Linked DNA regions of Homo sapiens: all the other regions are linked to region 4. The links are contacts of gene promoters, found by promoter capture Hi-C in blood cells and fetal thymus (Javierre and others, 2016). All regions are on one chromosome and are shown on one strand. Each heading gives the region's core, a stretch centred on a gene start or on the middle of the fragment in contact. The rest is flanking DNA. Distances are from core to core; before and after follow the strand shown. Region 1 has its middle 150 kb from the start of HDAC9. Region 2 overlaps LOC105375180 (a long non-coding RNA gene). Region 3 has its middle 34 kb from the start of MIR3146. Region 4 holds the start of TWIST1 (twist family bHLH transcription factor 1). Region 5 overlaps HDAC9 (histone deacetylase 9).

Region 1 (2,700 bases), core at 26-2,525, 770 kb before region 4:
CAGGTCATTTTTCTTCATCTGAGGAAAGTGGAATAGCCAATCCACCACTTTGTTTTCTAGGTCTAAAATGATCTGTTCAGTCTTTCCTAATTCATGGGTGTGGCATTCATAGGAGAGGCTGGCGGCACAAAGGAAATAAGACATCTATGCATCAATTTCTTTATATTGTACCATGGGATGGGGGTTTTAAAAGTTGTTCATATTTGTTTTCTGCACCATACTGAATGAATATTTCACAGTAACTCTTTTTAGAACACAATACTTGGTGAAAAATAAAATTCACCGTATTAATGTAACATTTTCCAATCCTAGTTACCAGCACTGCAAAGTACACACCACTCAACAATTGCTAGAATATGTAGCTATGTGTATTTTTAAAGCATATTATAAATTTTCCCACTCTTAGCAGAAAGTGAAGGAAAATGAGCACTTCATTAGCAACACTCTTAGTTGTGCAGCCAAGAAATAAAACATGAAGTAAGGTTTCTAGATACTATGGGAACCCCATTATGACTCCCTGGGGAGGCTTAGGGGAGGATGTTTTTCATAATGAGTCCATGCAGAAAGTTTTAATACTAGAACATCCTTACTTAGACATTTGCTTAGATTTCTACCACTAATGGGAAAACAAAACTAACAAAAACAACAACTCCCATGTAAATTGTGTTTATTCCTATTCAGTTAAACAAAGGGATCTTAGACCAAGTTGATAAACTGCAACATGTTCTTATTTATTTTATTTTATCTTACGTTATTTTATTTTATTTTTTAGACAGAGTCTCAGTCTGTTGCCCAAGCTGGAATGCAATCTCGGCTCACTGTAACCTCTGCCTCCCAGATTTAAGTGATTCTCCTGCTTCAGGCTCCCGAGTAGCTGGACTACAAGGTGTATGCCACCACGCCCGGCTAATTTTTTGTATTTTTAGTAGAGATGGGGTTCTCAAACTCCTGACCTCAGATGATCCACCCACCTCGGCCTCCCCAAGTGCTGGGATAACAGGCACGAGCCACTGCACCTGGCCGGCAGTATGTTTTTAATCTGTATCTCAGTGCCCTCTGTTTTTACAAAGTAGATGATAAGTATTGAGTTTTGAAATAGATAAAGGGTTGACAGTCATAGATTCTTGCTTTTAATTTTAAGAGAGAAGTAGGTAGCAAATTTTGGAGTTGAAAGACGGATCATGCAGTAACTAGCAACTGTTTCTCAAAATTCCCTCATCATTAGGATCTCTTGAATTGCTGGTTTAAAATATCAGTTTCTAGGCTGCTCCACAAAATATTTTGGGTCCTGCAGTTGGACATGAAAAGCACAAGCACCCCAGGTAATTCTTATGATCAGGAGAATTTGGGAAACATTTATCTGATTTAATTAATTATAGAGGCAATGTCAGCGATTAAGAGGTAAGATATGGAGTATAGATTCGTATGTTCATTTAGGAAATGCTTAGCTATCAACACTTATTGAGCATTTATACTATGGACCAGATTTGAGCACACTTACTACATGTGTGATTTTTGAACTTGTCTTTTACCCTTTCTGAATCTCAGTTTCTCATTTAAAAAATGAGGATAATACCTTACTCATGGATTTTTGGGAAGGTTCAATTAGATATGCCCCAAGAAATGCTTAATTTTTCTGAAAAATACCACTGTTTTTAGGCATCTATTATACTGTAGGGGTCATAATTTAATTATTTCTATTAGGTATTTTTACTATACACCAAGATTTCATTATGCAATCACACATCTGTTGTTCTGAGCTGTGGTTCTTACTGGCATCTTTTGGAGATGTATTTAGAGGTAAAGAATCCTTTAACAACTTTTAGGATCCAAAATCTCCTAACACAAACTTTCTCCTTCTGCCTTCTCTTTAGCCCTTTTAAAATTGGTGTATTTCCTACTTAAACTCACATATTTCAACTTCTTGCAACACTATTAAAATTACAGCTACTATTTGTTAAGCACTTACTGTAATCCAGGCACAGTCCTGGATGCTGCTTGTATTATTTAATCTTCACAGTAGTAGTGCAGTTTAGGTATTATGACTATTTAAATGGAGTCTGAGAACACAGAACTCAGTAATTGAGACAGCATCTTATAGGTATGATGCTGTGAAGAACAGAAATTATTTTAATACCTGTATATCTGTCTTCAAGCCCAAGTTCTGTCCACTATAAGCTATTCCCATAACTTTAATACAGTCATTTTCCCAATATGAGAACATGAATTTCTCCCATTGGCTTCCTAATGGTTTTCTGTCACTCAGAGTAAAATTCAGCTTCTTTACTTACTAAGGCCTACAAAGCACTGCACCGTATGTCTTTCATGTTCTAAGGCTTTTGCATTTGTTGGTCCCTGTGCTTGAAACTGTCTTGCCTTAGGTAAGCTGTGCACCTCTCCCTGACCTCATTAGAGATGTCTTTCCAGATGACCTCCCATACTTGAGAACATCTACACACACACACACACACACACACACACACACACACACACACACACACACACACAGATATTGCCCTTCCTCCTTGCTGGCTTATTTTTTCTCTATAGCAGTGATCAACAGCTAACATCTTAACATCTAATATAGTTTTCTTTATTTTTTCTTTCTCCCAGTATAATGTTAGTGCCTGAGAATGGTAGCTTAATGTTATCTGCTTTATCCCCACTGCCTAGCACATAGCAGGGATGCAATAAATATTT
Region 2 (2,700 bases), core at 9-2,508, 530 kb after region 4:
AGACAAGACAGAGAAAGGAAAAGATAAAAAGCATTTGAGAAGAGTAAAGATGGCTGACTAGAAGCAGCTAGTGTGCACTGTTCTCACTGAGAGAGAAACAATTGTGAGTAAATACAACCTCTTCTGCTGGAATGTCCAAGTGGACTCAATGGGATTAATCAAGGAAACAATTCGACCCATGGAGAACAGAGAGGAGCGAGACAGGACAACTGCCCACCCAGGAGTGGCACAAAGCCAGGGTAGGTCCCTCTATAGTAGGGAAATTGTAAGTGAGTGAGAGTCCCCAGGGACCCACACTTCTGCCACGGAGCTTTGCAACCCTGGGCTCAGGAGATTCCCGCATGAGTCCCCACTCCAAGTCCTCCAGACTGACATGGAGAGCTACATGGAGTCTGGGCAAGGCCACCACTCAGGCACACATGGAGTCCCAGGTGCCTTGGATCCCCAGGCATCCCAGCATTAGTGGCTCCAGCTCCAGCTATGGGGGAGGTCAGGCTCCCTTGCATACCCTGAAAAAAGGAGCCAAATCCTGGGGGCTGAGCCATGACAGACTGCAGAGTTTGCCTCTACTGGCCCTCTTGGGATAAAGCCCTCTGGACTGGGACCATAGTGTGCCCTCCTCTGCCCCACCTGGGCTCTCAAGCTGGTAGCAGCTCTGAACTTCCTTGAGACAGAGCTCCCAGAGGGAAAGGCAGGCTGCTATTTTTGCTCTCTCACACCCCTCACCACTGTTGCCCTGAGGCTCTGGAGTGAGCATGGTAATTAGGGATTGGAGTGGATCCCTAGCACAGTGAAGCCACCCCAAAGAAAAGTGACCAGACTGTTTTCAATGCAGGTCCTCATTTCTGCTTTTCCTCACTGGACAGAGCCTCCCAACCTAGGACTCCAGCCAACCCTCGGCTGGGCTCTCAGGCCAGTAGCAGCTCTGTACTTCCCTGGGACAGAGTTCCCAGAGATGCAGGTGGCCATTCTTGCTGTCCTACAACCCTCACCATTGTTGCCCTCAGGCCCTGGGTGGAGCACGGTGATTAGGAATTGGCACAGATCCCTCAGCACAGCAAAGCTGCCCCACAGAAAACTGGCCAGACTGTTTTCCACATGGGTCCCCGTTCCCACTTCTCTTCACTGGTCAAAGCTTCCTGACCTAGGACTCTAGCACAACTACCCTGCCCTTACCCAAACACTTTAGTCAGAGATGGCTCTGCATTTCTCTGAGGAGGTAATCACACAGACAACCCATAGCCCCTCTGCCATTGCAGCGGCCGTAGTACTGCCCTAACCACCATTGGGCTGGAGAAGGAACAAAAGGCCTGGTTGCTATGCTGGAACCTCCACCACTCGGCAGCTGCCATACAGAGAGGAGTCCAGCCTCTCTTCCTTGTAAGCTTCCATACTCCACTCTTCAGAATGCAGAGGCCCCAACTTGGGACCACAAAACAGTTGTCCCATCCCTGGCTGAGCTTACCCACTGGTATTGGCTGTGTGATTCCCTGGGAAGGGGCCCCCAGAGGCAACCAACAGCCTCTCTGCCACTAACACAGCAATGGTTCTGTTCCTGCTGAACCACTTGCAAGTGCAAGGGTTTCACTTGTACTTCCAGCATGCCACAGTCACTGTATGGAGAGGAGCTCTGTCTCTTCTCTCTGAGAGCCGTCAACCCTGGCTCTTCACCAAGAAGAGCCCCTGACTCAGGCAGCAGTGCAGCCTCTCTACCCTCTCACTGAACATTTCTGGTAGCAGTTGCTCTACATTTCTCTGAGCTAGACCCAGGGACAACTGAAAGCCCCTCTGCCAGTACCACTGCAGTGGCACTGCTATTTTTACCCTTGGACTGGGGAAAGGGCAAAGATCCTTAGTGCTTTAAGCACACCTCCAGCAAGCTGCAGTGACCGTAAGGAGATGAGGCCAGTCTGTCTTCATGACCCCTCTGTACCCCATGTTCATCACCAGGCAGAGTCCCCTCAGATTGGGCCCACAGAGAAGGCGCCCCCACCTTGGGCCAGTCAGAGTTATTTATAGTGGCTCTGCATTTCTCTGGGGTGGAACCCCAAGAGACAAGTAAAAGACCCTCTGCCACATCCACTACCAACATCCCTTCCCCTCCTGCCTCCAAGCTGCAGAGGGAACATAAAGTATAAGCTCACCCCAGAGCTGCAGTGTGCAGCTCAAGAGCGCTAAGCCAAGATATGCAGACAGCACTCAAATGAGAGAGGAGCCCACAGTTTGAGAGCGTTGAGAGGGAGCATGGCTGCAATCATGAGGTAATACAGAGAACCCAGGTGGCTGAGCAAGAACCTACCTACTAACCATTATGCCCAAACACTGTCTACAGGATTGCAGCCCAAACTTTGACACCAAAAATGCTTTGCTAATGTACACCCCTGTGAAAACAAGGACAAAAATTCAGCTACAGATAAGGACCCTGCACAAAGCCTTGACTGTCTGAAAACATCCAGAAAAAAGATCTACTGACTGTACTCAAATTACCTGGAAATTAAAGGAAAATCAGCTTACAAAATTAGAAAGAACCAGTGCAAAAACTCTGGCAATGCAAAAAGCCAGAGTGTCTTCTTTCCTTCAAATGACCATACTAGTTCTCTAGCAAGTGTTGTTAACCAGGCTGAAATGGTTGAAATGACAGAAACAGAATTCAGAATACAGATAGGCATGAAGATTACTGAGATTCAGGAGGAAGTTAAA
Region 3 (2,884 bases), core at 166-2,665, 550 kb after region 4:
TATTTAAACAGAAACAAACATATAACAAGGATGTGTATTGATCAGTTAATGAAAATATTGTGACCAGAGAATTAACCATGTATTTCCTCCAGAAGCAATTATTCGGTACTCACCAATTCATTGTTCATGGTACTTTATAGCACATAACCAGCGCAAATAACAAGAAGCGACTGTGCTTTCTCCCAGTCTAGAGCTTGTCTTATCAGTCTCTGAAAAATGTCTTTCAGAAAGCAAATTTAAAAATTTACAAGAAAGTTTTAAATTCTCATAAAATCCAGCTTAGGTTTTATTTTCTCTGTGGATCAAGCTTTTAGTGCCATACATAAAAACACTGCTTAAATCAATGTCAGGAAAATGTTCACTTATGTTTTATTCAAAAAATTTATAGTTTGAAATTTTTTGTTTAGATGTATCTATTTTGAGTTAATATTTTATATAGGGTGTGAGATTTAGATTGAGGTGTTCTGACTGATTTATATAAAATTGTTCCAATACCATGTGTTCAAAGGACAGTCCTTACTTTATTGAAATGTCTTTGCAACTTAAATCAACTAGTAGACTTCCAGTTTCAACCCTGACATATATAGAGCTTGAAAGTTGTCACTCCTACCCTTACATCGTGAAAAAGAAGGATAAACTGAAAATCAAGACTTTCCTTGGACCCATCAGACAACTGAGGTTGTAGGACAAACCTCCACCCTGAAATCTGGAGAGACAGACACATCCAGAGAGACACAGCCAAGATCCGCTTACCTTGGAGTCATAATCTGATAGAAATATTTTATGGTCATTTTAATGAATTGCTGGAGATGGAGTGTGGACTGGTGTGATATGAGAAACTACTGGAGGTCATAGTCATAGGGCAGCCTCCAGGAATCACAGCATGTTTATATGATGAAGATCCAAGAAAGATTCCTTGTGGCTCTAGCAGAGAAAGGAAGTATTAATCATTCTGAAGTATTCTGAGAACCTTCTCCATAATAAAGGCCTAATCTCTGGGAGAAAAGACTGGGCTGTAGTTTACCCCAAGGTATTATTCCCACTTCAGCCCTCCTTCCAGGCTTCCTGTCTCACCAAAGAGAGGGGAGAAGACATAGTCAATAGGCGTCAGGGCTTCAAGAAAATTGTTTGGAAATGCTGCAGTTAGTCTCAGAAATGAAAGAAGGGTCACCACTACAGATTTCACTGACATTAAAATTATAACAAAGTTATACTATGAACACTCTATGTCCATACATTTGATAGCTTAAATGAAATGAATAAATGTCTTGAAAAACATACCCAAAGAGAAAGCAATAACCTCAGTAGCCCTAAGTATATTAAGGAAATTTAACCAATAATTAATAACCTTCCAAAATAAAACACCAGGCCCAGTTGGTTTCACTGGTGAATTTTAACAAACATTTAGTCAGAAATAATACTAATTCTCCACAATGTCTTCCATAAAAAATAAGCATAAAGAATACTCTTATTCTATGAGGCCAGTGTTACCCTAATTTCAAAGCCAGATAGAGACCTAACATAATAGAAAAACTACAGACCAGTATCTCTAATGAACATATACTCAAAAATCTTCAACTAAATATTAGCAAGTTGAATCTAATAATATAAAAAGATACACCTGGATGAAGTGGGATTTATTCAATATGGACAAGCCTTGTTCAACATTAAAAACCATTCAACATAATCTGACTTGTCAAAGGATATAAAAGAAAAAGGATATAATCATACACTGATGCAGGAAAAACGTTTGAAAAAAATCCAATTCATGATAAAATTTTTAAGCAAACTAAGAATAGAGAAAATTTTCTAAAATTTTTTTGCTAGAAAAAATAAGAGTTATGCAAAAAAAAAATCTACATACCACCATTCTGAAACAAGCCTCTTTTTGAAACAATTAATACTTAATGTTGAAAGACTGAATGCTTTTTCCCTAAGTTTGGGAAAATGTAAGGATGTCCTTTCACAGCAGTCATAGTCAGCGTCATAAGGGAAGCTCTATTTAGAGCACTAAAATAAGAAAGAAAAGGTATGCATATTGAAAAAAGCTGTTTTTATTTGGAAATGACATGATTGCCTATGCAGAAATTTCAAATAATCTACGCAATAATTTCTGCAACCAATAGGTTAATACAGCAAGGTCACAGATTATAAAGTGAATATATAAAAGCCACTTTCTTATCTATACACCATCAGTGAACATTGGAACTTAAAATTAAACAATACATTTACAATAGTGCCAGAAATGAAATACTTGTAGATATAATTCTAACTAAGTATGAATACCATCTGAATGCAGAAACTGCAAAACATTGAATGAAGAAATCATAGATATAAGTAAATTGAGAGATATTCTATATTAATGAATTTGAAGGTGTAATATTACTGAGATGTTAAATCTTCCTTTAATGGAATTCTAATAAAATTCCCATCAAGTTAAGATTTTTTTAAAAGCCTCTCAATGAACAAATTGGGCAAAAGATCTAAATAGACACCTCTCCAAAGAGATAGACGGATGGCAAATAAGCTTATGAAAAGATACTCAATATACATTAGGGATATACAAATTAAAACAACCATGAGATATGACTGCACACATTAAAATGTCTAAAATAAAATAAAATAAAAACCCTGACAATACTAATTACTGATAAGGTTGCAGAGCAACAGAAAGTCCATTGCTGATGTGAATGTAAAATGGTACAACAAATTTGGAAGACAGCTTGACAGTTTCTTACAAAGTAAAATGTAGCCTTATTATGCAATTTAGCAGTTTTCTTCTAGGTATTTAGTCAATTGATTTGAAATGTTGTTAGGAGCTTTATTCATAATTGCCAAACTGAAAGGAGCCAAATCTCCTTCAAAAGGTGAAATAAACTTCCAT
Region 4 (2,700 bases), core at 183-2,682:
GAGCACTGTTCTTATCACCACCACTGAGAAATTAAGCTGAACAACCTGGAAGGATTTCAGCCCAAGGGCAAGAGGAAGTGGGTGGGTGGAAAGGAGGAGGAGGTGGAATTTGTTTTAAAACATTTGTTTTAAGGAGAACAAAAATTGAAAGCCGAAAGAAAGGGTGGCGCTGACAAAACGGTCCTTACCCGTGACCCTGGGTGTCTCTGTCTCCCCTCCTGTCACGCACACTCACGCGCACACACACCCCTCACCAGGGCGCATCCCCCTGGAGACTGCTCTCCCTAGCGGGGTCAGACCGGCCTTCCGGGGACGCTGGGGGCGCGAGGCAACGGTGCCAAGTGAGGTGGGAAGGCTGAGCGGAGAGTGGGAGAGGGGAGGAAATCGAGGTGGACTGGGAACCGCGGCCTGGCCGGCCTGCCGTCTGCCACCTGAGAGGCGAAGGGGTGCAGCGGCGCGGTCCTTACCTAGGTCTCCGGCCCTGCTGAGGGGGTGGGGGGCTCCGCCTGCTAGTGGGACGCGGACATGGACCAGGCCCCCTCCATCCTCCAGACCGAGAAGGCGTAGCTGAGCCGCTCGTGAGCCACATAGCTGCAGCTTGCCATCTTGGAGTCCAGCTCGTCGCTCTGGAGGACCTGGTAGAGGAAGTCGATGTACCTGGCCGCCAGCTTGAGGGTCTGAATCTTGCTCAGCTTGTCCGAGGGCAGCGTGGGGATGATCTTCCGCAGCGCGGCGAACGCCTCGTTCAGCGACTGGGTGCGCTGGCGCTCCCGCACGTTGGCCATGACCCGCTGCGTCTGCAGCTCCTCGTAAGACTGCGGACTCCCGCCGCCGCTGCTGCTGCCGCCGCCGCCGCCCGCGCCGCCGCCGCCGCCACAGCCCGCAGACTTCTTGCCGCGCTTGCCCTGGGCCGGGCTGCCCGGCTCGTCGCCGCCTCCGACGCCCCCACCCGCGGCTCCGCCGGGCCCCGCGCCGCCGCCCGCGCTGCGCCTGCTGCTGCGCCGCTTGCGTCCCCCGCGCTTGCCGCTCGGCGGCTGCTGCCGGTCTGGCTCTTCCTCGCTGTTGCTCAGGCTGTCGTCGGCCGGCGAGACTGGCGAGCTGGACACGTCCTGCATCATCTCTCGAGCGGCGACGCGTGGCCTCGCGGGCCCGGGGCAGAGGAGAAGAGCGGGGCGCCTCAGCCCGCCAGCTTCCCCCGCGCGCGGCGCCGGCCCGGGCGATGCGGCCCGCGGAGGAGAGAGCAGGAGGACGGACGGGAGGGACCTCCGCGGGGAGGGCGCGCGGGGGAGGCGGGGAGGGAGGCGGGAGGGGGAGGGGACGGTGTGGATGGCCCCGAGGTCCAAAAAGAAAGCGCCCAACGGCTGGACGCACACCCCGCCAGGCCTCCTGGAAACGGTGCCGGTGCTGCAGAGCCCGCGAGGTGTCTGGGAGTTGGGCGAGAGCTGCAGACTTGGAGGCTCTTATACCTCCGTGCAGGCGGAAAGTTTGGGGGCAGCAGTGTCATTGGCCTGACGTGAGGAGGAGGGACTTTTCGAAGTTTTATAGGAAAGTTTCCGCTTTCCAGTCCCCCTCCCCCGTCCCACCTCCCTTCCTCGGGGTCTAACAATTCGTCCTCCCAAACCATTCAAAAACGACCTGGCCCGGGCGGCCGGCCCCTCCACCCGCCTCCTAGCCGCCCTCCCCCTTCCCTCCCCGTCGCCTTCCTCCGGCGGGCGCGGGGCGATTTCCTTCCCCGCCGGAGCGTGCGGGCAGCGCCCCCGAACCCTAGCGCAGCCCAGGAAGCGGTCGGAGGAGACTGTCCTGGCCGCGGTGGCAGCCCCATCCGGAGTGGCTGTGACAGCAGCAATGGCAACAGCTTCTACACAGTGGGTGATGTCTCATCTCGCCCAAGAGCCCTCTAGGTCCGTGGGGCCGATTTGGGATTGCTGGGGCTGGGGGGGTGGTGTGGCGCGGGGTGGGGGGGCATGCCAAGAAAAGTGTCAACCGCGGAGCCCACCCAATGGTCAGGTAGACGAACCCCTTGGAGTTCCAAAGGCCAAACCGCGGCGGCCCAGCCCGGAGGTCCTGGGCGTTTCTGAAGACGTGGCCGCGCCGCGGGGGCTGAGGATTTGCGTCCCGGCCTGCTCTCTCGCCCTTCTGGGCCCTCCTTTCCCCTCTACAACGACCCAGTCTGACGCTCCCCAACATCCAAAGGACTACGCCTCGGAAGGTGCTCGAAAGAGGCAGAAGTTCACTCTTCGGTGGAAGGAAACCCAGTCCATGGGAAAGGCAGCAGAGCCAGAGGGGGGCAGCGCAGCGCCTTTGCTGCGGCCCTAACAGCTGGCAATGCCAACCCAAGGGAGAGACCCTGTGGCCATTTCATCCCCACCCCCAAATTAGGCTCCGCATTGTGACCTTGAAAGGCCAGCTTGTAAGAGAGTGAAGTGGGAATTTGATAGCGCCTAGACATAGGGGCTGCCCGCTCTGAGACCCCCCCCGCCCCAGCCCCCACTATCTAGGGCATCCAGTGGACAATTAGGCTTCGTGAGCCCCAATTCCAAATGCTTGGATACGCTAACATTTTAAGCATTTCTGTCTGTAAGTTAAAACGAAGAGCCCCAAAGAGGGTGTTAATGTAGATCCTGGCAAACTGGAAGCAGCAAAGTTGGTGAACCAGAAAGGAAGTCGCCTTGGATAAGAAGCCCATCTTTTGCAATGCCA
Region 5 (2,734 bases), core at 111-2,610, 530 kb before region 4:
AATGTACAAATGACTTTATATCATCATTGTAAAGAAATGGCTAGAGTCATTGGCATAAAATTTGTTGTACAGGGTCTTATACTTTTTATTTGTTTCCAAATCAATGTGCTAATTTCCAATCTTCTATTACCCTCCCCCACCCCATTTCCCTTTTTTTCTGGTTCTTTAGTGGATGTGAAGTCAGAAGTTCCTGTGGGCCTGGAGCCCATCTCACCTTTAGACCTAAGGACAGACCTCAGGATGATGATGCCCGTGGTGGACCCTGTTGTCCGTGAGAAGCAATTGCAGCAGGAATTACTTCTTATCCAGCAGCAGCAACAAATCCAGAAGCAGCTTCTGATAGCAGAGTTTCAGAAACAGCATGAGAACTTGACACGGCAGCACCAGGCTCAGCTTCAGGAGCATATCAAGGTAGCAAATGCTTCTTTGTCTGTGACCTTACTCAGGAGTCTGCACCGTGGTGGGCATGAACAGTGCCCATGGGAACACTTTGCGGGTAGATTCACTGTGATTAAGACATGGATATATGGCTTGAAGGGAATTGTGATTTTACTAGTGAAAACTTTGGGTAAGTACCTGTTAAAAACCTGTTTTGCTTCTCAGAGGGACCTTCTTTATCCTTTAGCACATAGAATCAATAGCAGGGAATAGTAACTTCCTATCCTAATTTTAGATTCTCTCCTACGTGATTTTGTTCATTTGCCCCATCTGCTCTCCACCAAGAAGAAGCATGAGCCTAGAAGACCCATTTCATATTTCATTTCTGAAGAGTCTACATGTACTATTTGTGAGAAAGGATAAATTAGTCACCTTATATGAAGAGAGCTGTTTTTAAAAAACAAACATGGTGTATAAGTAGATGTTCTGAGTATGTCCGACTCTTCCTTATAGAAAAGATCTCATAATGTACACATTCAAAATAATAGTATAATAAAAAGCTTAAGGGAGTTATAAATGGAGAAACTGGTGCAAATGTTTTTATAGACTGTAGATAAGAATTTATTGAAAGTATTTGGGAGTAGTTGACAATTTGAGACTAAAGTTGTTTAAATTATTTTAGCACAAATATATCCATATTCCAGAATTTTTAATAATAACTTATTTTATTATCTAATAATATTAGATGTGTCTGTTTTTTTAAATTTTGTATCTTCAGAGATAAATATTACTTTAGCTTTATTTGTAAAACATCTTGCAACTTCTTGACAAAGACAGTTGAAACAAGGCTATTTAATTTGAATTTATTGTGACAGAAAAGCAGCAAAGATTTACAACAAAAATTTTATTTTTATATCTAACTTTCAAAGATGACAAACACTTGCTAATTTGTGAATGTAATAAATTATGTTATCTCATACTTTATTGTTTTGTATTATAGGAACTTTATTACTTGCATATCAAGTACAAGCACATTGATAGAGGGTTGATACAGATAACTGATGTTACTAGTATGTAATTTTACCACATTAATATGACAGTTTCTAAGGAAGTAAAAATGCTATCTTCTTCTCTATATTACTTGGTTTACAAGATGTTTCTTAATCCTAAAAGAACTTTATTATCGTATATTCCTAAAAAGGCTCTTTGACAAGTGATATAAAATATATTTATTTCTTTTAGTAGTGAACTTTCCAAAAAGAACTCTTGTATATTATTGATGTACAAAATACCTTAAAGTGAGAGTATTTTCTTTTGTCCCAAATGGAATCAGTAGCTCATGGCTACATTTTGAAGTATGGGTAGCCTTTCTTTAGTTTTTAGACTTATTTTTGAATGAATACTGAAGCTTTATTTAAATTTGACCTTTGAAACAATAATAGAAACATTGATATCTAGATCTGTTTCTTTCCTTCCAGCATGTTAAGATGGCAAAGAGAAATGAGTAAAATGTACATTTTTCACCATACTTTAAGATGTAAGGGACTGTGTAGTTCATTTTGCTGCTTTAAGTGAGACATGTTTCCCTAAATACAGGGCAATACTGATAAGTTACTGCTTTAGATACTTCTTTTCATTTATATTGCTGCCTTTGATAGCTATAAAGTTAATATAAATTGTTTAGAAAGAAATTTATTGCTTAATTTTACTCAAAAGGTAATAGTAGCAAGTAGATAATTAATTGTTCATTTGGCACAAGCAAAACAATAGTGTTGGTTTATTGACATCTGGAAAATATTGGAAAAGTGGCTCCTGTGAGAAAAAAGAATTATGAGATAGCTAAAAGGAAAATTTAGCTTTTAAAATGATTTTCCAAAATAATAATTTGTTTTCTTAGAAACCAAAGACATAATTAATATTACTTTTTCAGATTAGGAAGTTTTTTGATTTTTAGAATTTTTATTTTGTTTTGTCTTGTATTTTTTATGGATAAAGCTAAAAGTTGATGCTTTTCATTAAGATTTTATTTTTATGAGAAAGATGCATTACATGATGCTTTATTTATATTAGCTTTTTGAATCGTTAGCTTCTGTAATAATCAACATTTGTTGAGTTAGATGCTGTTATTCCATTTTTCCACCTAGTGAACTGAGGTAGAGAAAAATAATGATACCTTTCCAAGGCTACATAGCCAATAAATTGTTGCTCCAAGATTTACAGTCTTGCCCTGTCTGCCTCCAAAGCTCTTAAGTTGCCCTGCCTCTCTCATGGGCCAGAACATCTAGCAATAGAGGGCTAAAGTTTTATTTCTTTCTATTGTTTTAAACCTCATTCATGCAATCTTTGATAATGAATA

What was found. The method cuts DNA at HindIII sites, captures the fragments that hold promoters and counts their contacts. A CHiCAGO score of 5 or more calls a contact.
Region 1: a contact is called between a fragment that was not itself captured here and the fragment with the promoter of TWIST1 in region 4, in 1 of 17 cell types (megakaryocytes). The highest score is 5.7, in megakaryocytes.
Region 2: a contact is called between a fragment that was not itself captured here and the fragment with the promoter of TWIST1 in region 4, in 1 of 17 cell types (megakaryocytes). The highest score is 7.0, in megakaryocytes.
Region 3: a contact is called between a fragment that was not itself captured here and the fragment with the promoter of TWIST1 in region 4, in 6 of 17 cell types (megakaryocytes, M2 macrophages, M0 macrophages and 3 more). The highest score is 20.8, in megakaryocytes.
Region 5: a fragment that was not itself captured here is called in contact with the fragment with the promoter of TWIST1 in region 4 in 1 of 17 cell types (M2 macrophages); the score reaches 5.2 in M2 macrophages.

The regions. Positions count from the first base shown.
Region 1 is chr7:18,346,855-18,349,554 of GRCh38, forward strand. It overlaps a transcript of HDAC9 not described here. Among named protein-coding and RNA genes, the nearest start is that of HDAC9, 150 kb to the right of the region's middle. The HindIII fragment of the contact is 5,296 bases long and covers 1-2,700 here.
Region 2 is chr7:19,649,955-19,652,654 of GRCh38, forward strand. The region is part of intron 4 of LOC105375180 (a long non-coding RNA gene); the gene reads left to right. Among named protein-coding and RNA genes, the nearest start is that of MIR3146, 54 kb to the right of the region's middle. The HindIII fragment of the contact is 250 bases long and covers 1,134-1,383 here.
Region 3 is chr7:19,670,116-19,672,999 of GRCh38, forward strand. No RefSeq gene overlaps it. Among named protein-coding and RNA genes, the nearest start is that of MIR3146, 34 kb to the right of the region's middle. The HindIII fragment of the contact is 2,220 bases long and covers 306-2,525 here.
Region 4 is chr7:19,116,204-19,118,903 of GRCh38, forward strand. It overlaps TWIST1 (twist family bHLH transcription factor 1), which reads right to left and starts at 1,433. Exons shown (of 2, transcript NM_000474.4): 1 at 468-1,433. The coding sequence starts at 1,118. The coding sequence ends at 510. RefSeq lists enhancers at 440-699, 723-1,506, 2,580-2,700. The HindIII fragment of the contact is 6,123 bases long and covers 1-2,700 here.
Region 5 is chr7:18,585,112-18,587,845 of GRCh38, forward strand. HDAC9 (histone deacetylase 9) reads left to right here. Exons shown (of 26, transcript NM_178425.4): 3 at 170-411. Among named protein-coding and RNA genes, the nearest start is that of HDAC9, 91 kb to the left of the region's middle. The HindIII fragment of the contact is 848 bases long and covers 937-1,784 here.